2 separate regions of the Homo sapiens genome follow, and region 1 is linked to region 2. The links are contacts of gene promoters, found by promoter capture Hi-C in human tissues and cell types (Jung and others, 2019). All regions are on one chromosome and are shown on one strand. The core of a region is centred on a gene start or on the middle of the fragment in contact, and the rest is flanking DNA. Distances in the headings are between cores, read along the strand shown. Region 1 holds the start of DHRS4 (dehydrogenase/reductase 4). Region 2 holds the start of IRF9 (interferon regulatory factor 9).

Region 1 (4,859 bases), core at 1,510-4,009, 210 kb before region 2:
ATCTAGGACAGCTATTGCAAAACGCAAGACTTAAATTCCACCCCAGGTGAAATCTCTTCTGGACCGCAGGCAGCCCTTGAAAAGGATGGGAGTAGTGCCCTCACTCATGAAGGCATTTGTCCCTCAAGATAGGCAGATGTTACCACCTCCATGTAAGAACAATCCCATTGCCTGTTACAGTTCCCATTTCAAAGAGATACTCCCACATATGCATGTATTTCCCTGAAAGATTTCCCGTTATTTATTTATTTATTTATTTATTTATTTATTTATTTATTTAGATGGAGTCTTTCATTCTGCTGCCCAGGCTGGAGTGCAATGGCATGATTTTGGCTCACTGCAACCTCTGCCTCCCACGTTCAAGCAATTCTCCTGCCACAGCCTCCTGAGTAGCTGGGATTACAGGCACATGCCACCAGGCCCGGCTGGTTTTTGTATTTTTAGTAGAGATGAGGTTTCACCATGTTGGCCAGGCTGATCTCGAACTTCTGACCACGCCCAGCTAATTTTCGTATTGTTAGTAAAGAGGATTACAGGTGTGAGCCACCATGCCCAGCCCAAGATTTCCTGTTCTTATCTCCAATAAGCGAGCTTGATGAGGAGTAGTGCTAGAGAGTCCCATACTTCTTGACTTCCTTCCATCCTTTTCTGCTCACAGGCCCCCTCCCTAATGTCCCCTGTGCTCTCCACAAAAGAAATAGTGCTAGAGGCCAAATAGCAACCCTGCCCACACAAGGAAGGGCCATGTAATGTTCACCAAGCACCCAAGCCACAATTCTCTCTTCCCAGAATCCTTTGCTCTTTGAAGTGTAGTCTTCCTCACCTTCCTGCCAACCTCAGCCCCTGAGTCCACCTGTCTACCTCTGAAGAGAAGGGAAAGAGAGATCAAACGCCCCCTGCAGGCCTGTCCCTTTGAACCAAGCCCTGAGAACCCCCGCAGCCGTCCTCCTGTGTACCCTCCCCCAGCCGCACACACAGATGGAGAGCCCTGGGAAGGGTTCCCACAGTGCGTTAGCTCCAAACAGTGCAAGAGGACAAGCAGTGTGGCGCTTCCAGCCTCTGTCAATAATTCATGAGGCTCAGACTGAGGAGCACCAGTCAGAGTCAGCCTTCCCTGGACATGGGGAAAATTATACTGAAGCTCTCCTGTCTCATCGGGATCTGCTGAGTAGCAAAGCAGAGTATTGCAGCTGTAACTTCTTGGCTGAGGAAAACACTAGAATTCCAGTGCAGGCCGTTCTATTACTTGCTCACCATACACCCCCTTTTGAATGTTGAAACCCTTTTTCAGCTGCTCAGCTTACCTGCACATATACTAAATGAATCTTGAGCAAACATGAATTCTATTCAAAAGTCATGCCTAGAACTGGATTTCACAAACCAGGATTCTTTCCCCTTTAATTGTAGGGACTGGCATAAGGCTGCCAAACTGGTGATTTCACCAATAACACATCTCTAAACCTACCCATCTGCTTTCATCATCTTTTCTAAAAGAAAACACTAACACACACACACACACACAAAAAGAAGCAAACGTATACTCCACAATAAAGGACTGTTAAATAAGCTTAGCTTTATGAAACTCACTGTAATTGTTTCCTTTTCTCATTTTGCCTTGAACTAGTGAAAACGCTGCCATGAACCAGCACTGCTTCTCAGTCTGGCTTTGGAGGCCAGTGGGTTAAACCAATTCAGATGCTTGCATTTGGGTCTGTTGGGGCCTTTCTACACTGTACCATAAGCCATCCAGATTTCTTCATTCTCCCGGAAACCCAGGAGGGAGATCATTTCAGCCCACTTGGCAGAAGTGCAGACTGAAGTCTTGGACACAGAATTTATAGCTGGCAAGGACTTTATTCATCATCCATACCCTCAGTAATTTACAGATGAAGAGTCTGGCCCAGGGCACCAATAATAATCACTACATGGTGGCAGTAACTACTATGTGCTTAGTAGCTTACAGTTCATAAAGAGATTTTGCATTCAACAAATATTTATTGAACTAAGATGGCGGCTAAGACCTGGGGACAGAGTGGTTAGGGAGAACTTGAGTGCCCCGAGTTCTTTGCATTTCCACCACTGCTTGAGGGACTGTCCAGCCTCCTCGCTACCACTTAGCCCCTGTAAAGGAGGAAGTCCCTTTGTCAACGGACATGAGAATGCTGTTTGGCCAATGACCATAGTCTGCCCTCCAGGGCCCGTGAAGATGGAAGAGACCTTGGGCAGAGTGAAGGGCAGTGCCAGGCCTGGCGCAGCTACTCCCTATCACGTCTCTCTCCCAGGCTCTTCCAGCCTCACCTGGTGGACTCCATGGCGACCACAGGCCTCACCTCCATGGGCAGTCTCAAAACATTTGCCCTCCTGTGGGCTGTCACACACATAGACCCAGACTTTCTTGGAGAAGGAATTCTGAAGAAGCAAAAGCAACCAACTCAAAACCCCCACTTCCCAGAGAAGAAAAGGTGGGCAAGCAGATGCAGAAAGGCAGCAGCCAAAGCCTGCGGGTTCCTGCAAGGGCCAGGGGAGGGGCGAGCCCTACAGGCAACTTGAACGGAGAGCTCACCCGCCAGCCCGGAAAGGCAAGCCCCAGTCAGGCGGAAGGTAGATGGTGGAGGGGCGCCGCGGCGGATGGAGGTGCCCAGGGCCACAGACCGCTCACAGCGGTACCGGGGCGGGGAGCAGGGCGGGCAGGGAATCGGCCCGCCCTTCGTCCTGCCCCTCGCCCTACTCTGTCACCGCCCCTGGGAAGAGTGGAACCCATACTTGCTGGTCTGATCCATGCACAAGGCGGGGCTGCTAGGCCTCTGTGCCCGGGCTTGGAATTCGGTGCGGATGGCCAGCTCCGGGATGACCCGCCGGGACCCGCTCGCAAATAAGGTGGCCCTGGTAACGGCCTCCACCGACGGGTGAGTGCTCCGGCCGGAGTTTCTGAGGCCCTGGCTGCCTGGAAACAGGCACTGGCCTCTCATCCTCGGCCTCCGGTGCCCCTGTCCTCAGACCTTACACGCTGCCAAAGTCTGGCCCTGGAAAAAAGGTAGCCACGTGGTCCGCCTGAAGCCACTCCGAATCCCCTAGCCCTGGACCCTCCCTTGCCAGCCCTCCTGTCCCTGCTACCTCTGGCACAACTGTGCCACCTCTGTGCAGCCCTATCGATCTAGTCTCCCCAGTGTTCTGGGCTGCCCCAGTCAACCAGCGCCACCTAGCGTCTGGGAAGACCAGAAACTGGAAATCCAAGGAAATCTGGATTTCAAAATACTATCCCACGGCCTCCAGCACTTTGAAAATGTACCAGACATTCTATTTGGGCACCGGAAAGTCCCCCGGAACCCCTCCCCCTTACCTAGATGGGACACCAGAGCCATATGTCGAGATTTTTGTTTAGGTCGGTACATCTGGGCCGACCTTGCCCAGCCTGTTTCTCACCCACCATTCTTGTCTATCCTGGTCCTCATTTCTACAGGACTTTGCTAGATGCCAGCTCTTCACAAAACTAAAATACAAATGTAGGTAAAATGCTAATAGCTGACAAATGCAAAATGTGTAACTCTTCCTCCCAAGGCAATATTTACATTTTTGACCGGAGACCATCTTTTCACATGCACCCCAAAAAATAACTAAGGATAGAATTTTGAGAATGATGTAGACGAGTAAGAAAGAAACCTGGGGGCAGGGCTGTTCTGAGTGAGACCCTCAAATCACGGAAGTGGCTGCTGCTGCAAACCCAGCTCATTTCTCACCTCTCAGTCCCAAGAGGGGATGAAGCCTGTCACCCATGGTGGGAACTGTAGAAAGTGATGTCAGTTCTTGGGAACTGAGGCTGTGGTCCAGGTCATAATAAAAACAAGTAAAGGAATGCCAAAAATGGCCATGCCATTAAGCCTGTTTTACACATAGTAGGCACACGTAGGGGTTATATAGAGAAAGAGCCAGAATTCAAACCCGGGCAGTCTTAACTTCAGAGCTCATACTGTCGACCTCTTCCCCTGCACAGGCCTTAGCAGTCTTTGTCTCTTTCTGCTCACAGGATCGGCTTCGCCATCGCCCGGCGTTTGGCCCAGGACGGGGCCCATGTGGTCGTCAGCAGCCGGAAGCAGCAGAATGTGGACCAGGCGGTGGCCACGCTGCAGGGGGAGGGGCTGAGCGTGACGGGCACCGTGTGCCATGTGGGGAAGGCGGAGGACCGGGAGCGGCTGGTGGCCACGGTGAGCTGCAGGGAAATGGGCACAGAGCCAGGAGGTGGAAAACGGAGCCAGCCTGAGCCTCCTTCCCTGCTTTCCTAGACAGCAGCACATTTTTACTGTGTGCCTTTCTATTATGTCCATATACTAACGTCAGAGAATCATCCCATCTCAGTCAGAGAATTTTAAAACATTCTAATGCTTCAACCCTGCATCATCCCTTGAGTACCCCAAAGAAACAGCTGGTACTGGTTCTGCAGTAATTTTCAATCTAATTGAACAGATGTGAAGGGTAAATACAATCACAAAATACATGTTCCCACCCATGAGTTAATAAACATTCCCCTCTTCTTCAGCTTATAGAGTCAAGTCCCTGGGAACCTCAGGAAGCAGCCCACCATGTTTCAGCCACTTACTATGTGCCATTTCCTGTGTTCAGAGCCTTACACAGGTTATCTCTAGACCTGACAACAACCCAAGCAAGGCAAGGACTATTCTCTCAGTCTGCAGACCCTGGCTCAGATAGCTGGAGCAACTTCCCAAGGTCCCACAGCCAGTAAGGAAAGACCCAGACCTCCCAGGCTCCCTTCCTTTATTGGCTGCCTGTGGACTACCGGGTACTGGACTTTAGTCTCAAAGAAAGTATATAAGTCGATGTCAGAATTAGTAGTGGACACCAGC
Region 2 (4,426 bases), core at 1-2,500:
GGCATGCCCAGGCAGTAAAATGGGTCCTTGGGAGCAGTAGGTCTTGCAGTGGGTGGGAGGGAGGAGGCTTTCTGGGCAAGGGCATGGGTAGATAGTAGCAGGCAGTGTGGGCACAGGTGGGTTGTTAATCTTGTTCGTCCAGGTGTCTCAGAGTCCAGCTATGTTAGACACACTCAGTTAATATTAGCCAACACAACAAATATTCTGCTCCCTTTTCTCCCCAGGGCACACTACAAAGAGTATCTTGTGAGCCTCATCAATGCCCACTCGCTGGACCCAGCCACCTTGTATGAGGTGGAAGAGCTGGAGACGGCCACTGAGCGCTACCTGCACGTACGCCCCCAGCCTTTGGCTGGAGAGGATCCCCCTGCTTACCAGGCCCGCTTGTTACAGGTATAGCCTCCACCCAGCCTCATCTCTTAACCCACCCTACAGAAGTCACCTGGTGCTGACTGTGTCTGAGCTCCAGGCTTCCAATATCATTACCTTCTCTCTCCTTCTGCAGAAGCTGACAGAAGAGGTACCCTTGGGACAGAGTATCCCCCGCAGGCGGAAGTAGCTGAGGGCAAGGGTCCCGATGAGGGTCCCATGGCCTGCTCCCTCAGGAACAGCTCCAGCACCAATAAAGAGGCATCTTACCACCCAGGCTTCTTGGTGGTCCTTCTTCCTGGTGCCACCATCTAGGGGCACCAGGGAAAGAGCGGGGTGAACAGAGCTTTGCTGAAAAGGGCCCCCTGCAACCTAGTGCCTGACCCTCCCTGGACTCAGGACCAGGAAGGAGTTGACACCCTGGATGGTCAAGGGAGGCCCTCCCCATCCAGCAGCCTGGCCTGGGCTTCCTCCCTCCCTGCCTCCTTTTTTCCTTTCATAGAATTTGACTGGTATTTGAAGTCACCCAATATGTATCAGGTGGGCACTGTGGGGGAATGCAGATGCACAGGTGTACACAGCAGTCCAGAGGTCCCAGGCCTGACTCCAGGAAACTGGCCTCCCTGGGGAAGCCACGGTGTCACCCAGAGGTCAGATAGAAGCAAGAGTATCTGAGGGAGGCAGGGGAATGAGCCAGGCTGGAGCTGAGCCAGCAGGGCAGGGCCCCCCTGCTGCGACAGTGGCATCCTGATAGTGAGATGCTCAGATGCTGCTGCCCTCTAGTGGCCGCCAGTTCCCTGCAACTCAGACCACGTGATTTCTGGGAAAAGGCCCTCCCTGGAGGAGAACTGAAACTTAGGGTGGGGACTGTAGAAAGGGGCGGAGAGATCAGCCGCCCAGCCAGGAGTTAAGCTGAGGTCGTCTGAGCCCTGCGACAGCCTGGACAGCAACTCAGGTAAGATCAGCCAAGGATGGGAGTCAGCCTGGGATCTAGGGCTAGAAAGTCCAGCCAGATTGAGGGCAGGGGGTCCTAGGGGTCGCTCTGTTAGACTGAGGGATAGACAGAAGATCTCTTAAGTCAGGAAGTGGGAGATTCAGCCTGAGAGTGAGACTGACAAGGGCCAGCTCCCCAGACCCTTGTAGGCAAAGGTCAGGAGGACCTACTGCTGGATTGTTCAAGGAAGAAGGCTCCTGGCCCCAGCCTCAGTGGACCATTTGTTTCCTTGCCATCTGGCCCTGCCCACTTCTGCTGCAGCTCCAACCCCACCCCTACTTCCTGCCCCACCTACTCCTGGGGCCGGCAGGGGGTGGGGGTCAGGCTAGGTTGTGTAGGCTGTGGGGCGGTGGGTGAAGAGCCTGATGGATCTCAGCAGAACCTACCTCTGCTGATGCTCGGGAATCTAGACAGGGCCTGTCACCAGGAACGATCACCAAAGGAATTCTTTTGTAAACAATACATCTCTGAAAAGTCCTAAAATTAAGACCAGTGCCCAAGGTTTCCTTCCAGGTATCACAGCTTAGAGTGCTAAAAACAATGTTTTGGGGGGTTTTGTTGTTGTTGTTGTTGTTTGTCACTGCTAGTGATGGCAGAAAGGAAACAATTCTGTCCCATAGAGTGTTGAAATGTGTTTGGAGCTAAAAGAAGATGGATGGGATCTCTGGGACCTGTTGCCAGAATCTAGTCTCAATGGCCAGGGTCTCAGGAGATGTTCCCTCCCAAAGTGTCAGTTCTGATGCATCCTGCTCCTATTATCCCCCAGGATGGCATCAGGCAGGGCACGCTGCACCCGAAAACTCCGGAACTGGGTGGTGGAGCAAGTGGAGAGTGGGCAGTTTCCCGGAGTGTGCTGGGATGATACAGCTAAGACCATGTTCCGGATTCCCTGGAAACATGCAGGCAAGCAGGACTTCCGGGAGGACCAGGATGCTGCCTTCTTCAAGGTGAAAGGGCCTGGAAACCACTGTTCCTCTGTGTGTGGGATGGTGTATACACACTGGTACACTCATCCTCGAGCACTTGCGTCTGCCTGGGTTTCAGATAAGGGACAGATTGGAGAGGAAAACTAGCTGCATCATTTGCAGAGTCCAGTACAAAATGAAAATGTGGAGGCCTTGTTCAAAAATTTTAGGGATATTGGCCAGGCACGGTGGCTCACGCCTGTAATCCCAGCACTTCGGGAGGCCAAGGTGGGTGGATCACGAGGTCAAGAGATCAAGACCAGCCTGGCCAACATGGTGAAACCCTGTCTCTACTAAAAATACAAAACTTAGCTGGGCCTAGCGGTGCATGCCTGTAGTCCCAGCTACTCGGGAGACTGAGGCAGGAGAATCGCTTGAACCAGGGAGGTGGAGTTGTAGTGAGTCGAGATCGCACCACTGCACTCCAGCCTGGTGACAGAGTGAGACTCTGTCTCAAAAAAAAAAAAAAAAAATTTCCAAGGATTTCAAGATGGCAACGCAGAGCACAGACCCTGCATAATCCCTTCTGAGCTCAGAGCTGCACGCCTGTAAAGCCAGTCCTATTGGAGGGGCAGGTGGAGCCTGTAACACACTGCCTCTTCTTCCCTTGCTTTCTTTCCTAGGCCTGGGCAATATTTAAGGGAAAGTATAAGGAGGGGGACACAGGAGGTCCAGCTGTCTGGAAGACTCGCCTGCGCTGTGCACTCAACAAGAGTTCTGAATTTAAGGAGGTTCCTGAGAGGGGCCGCATGGATGTTGCTGAGCCCTACAAGGTGTATCAGTTGCTGCCACCAGGAATCGTCTCTGGTGAGTTTCCCCTTGTCCAACCACTGCTAGACTCAGCAGACTGGGGAGGAAGGATAGATGTGCAGGCTTCCCCCAGGCTTATAGCTCTGCCCTGTCCATGCCCTTGGGGGGCTGCAACCCAGGTTTCCCTTCCTAGACCTGCCCATCCTTCACTGCCTCAGACCTCTCCTTCACCCTCTGTCCTTGCTCAAGACCCTGACCTTTCTCTGTCCCTCAACAATTCCACAGGCCAGCCAGGGACTCAGAAAGTACCATCAAAGCGACAGCACAGTTCTGTGTCCTCTGAGAGGAAGGAGGAAGAGGATGCCATGCAGAACTGCACACTCAGTCCCTCTGTGCTCCAGGACTCCCTCAATAATGTAAGAGATGGAGAGGGAACTGGGTGGGCCTAAGGGCAGGACAGTAACCAGAGGGAGAGGTGGGCCAATGAAAGACACTGTGTCTTGGGAGGCCGAGGCTGGCAGATCACGTGAGGTCAGAAGTTCGAAACCAGCCTCGACCAACATGGTGAGAACCCGTCTCTACTAAAAATACAAAAATTAGCTGTGCGTTGTGGCATCTGCCTGTAATCCCAGCTACTCAGGAGGCCGAGGCAGGAGAATCGCTTGAACCGGGGGGCGGAGATAGCAGTGAGCCGAGATCGCGCCACTGCACTCCAGCCTGGGCAACAAGAGTGAAACTCTGTCTCAAAAAAAGAGAAAAAAAATAAAAAGACACTGTGTCCGCAGGAGGAGGAGGGGGCCAGTGGGGGAGCAGTCCATTCAGACATTGGGAGCAGCAGCAGCAGCAGCAGCCCTGAGCCACAGGAAGGTACCACCTGCCCTGCCTCTTGTGTCGTCCCCCATGCCACACCCTCTGGCCCAAGACTCCCCAGTCCCACTCTGAATGACCAGTGCCTTTGCTTCCCTTCCAGTTACAGACACAACTGAGGCCCCCTTTCAAGGGGATCAGAGGTCCCTGGAGTTTCTGCTTCCTCCAGAGCCAGGTACGTGGCATTTCTGACTTTCTCCTGTGCCCTGTGCCCCTGAGGTCTTCCACCTTTGACTATGCATGCATTATCTAGTCAGTCAGGGCTTACAGCAAACTGTACCCACATTACCATAGCCCTAGGCAGTGGTTTCTAGGTGGCGAGAATTCCATATGCCTGGCCAGACTCCAAAAAGCTTGCTTCCCAAAAATACCACCCTATACACTCTCCTGGAAATCTACATTGAGACATTGATTTCATTGGGCCAAACAGAGGCCCAATCTCAAGGGACCTTCTAGTAAACTACAAGCCCCTGGGCATTGA

What was found. Contacts are between HindIII fragments. The study calls those that stand out against the background at their distance.
Region 1: a contact is called between the fragment with the promoter of DHRS4 here and the fragment with the promoter of IRF9 in region 2, in 2 of the 25 tissues and cell types used here (neural progenitor cells and thymus).

Annotation. Positions count from the first base shown.
Region 1 is chr14:23,951,011-23,955,869 of GRCh38, forward strand. It overlaps DHRS4 (dehydrogenase/reductase 4), which reads left to right and starts at 2,760. Exons shown (of 8, transcript NM_021004.4): 1 at 2,760-2,906; 2 at 4,025-4,202. The coding sequence starts at 2,779. DHRS4-AS1 (DHRS4 antisense RNA 1) reads right to left here and starts at 4,102. Exons shown (of 2, transcript NR_023922.2): 1 at 3,738-4,102. RefSeq lists enhancers at 2,282-2,481, 3,092-3,221, 3,272-3,401. The HindIII fragment of the contact is 7,990 bases long and covers 1-4,859 here.
Region 2 is chr14:24,160,015-24,164,440 of GRCh38, forward strand. It overlaps IRF9 (interferon regulatory factor 9), which reads left to right and starts at 1,251. Exons shown (of 9, transcript NM_006084.5): 1 at 1,251-1,324; 2 at 2,130-2,310; 3 at 2,952-3,135; 4 at 3,364-3,494; 5 at 3,864-3,945; 6 at 4,049-4,120. The coding sequence starts at 2,131. It overlaps RNF31 (ring finger protein 31), which reads left to right. Exons shown (of 21, transcript NM_017999.5): 20 at 225-393; 21 at 506-641. The coding sequence ends at 559. RefSeq lists enhancers at 978-1,367, 2,357-2,416. The HindIII fragment of the contact is 9,939 bases long and covers 1-4,426 here.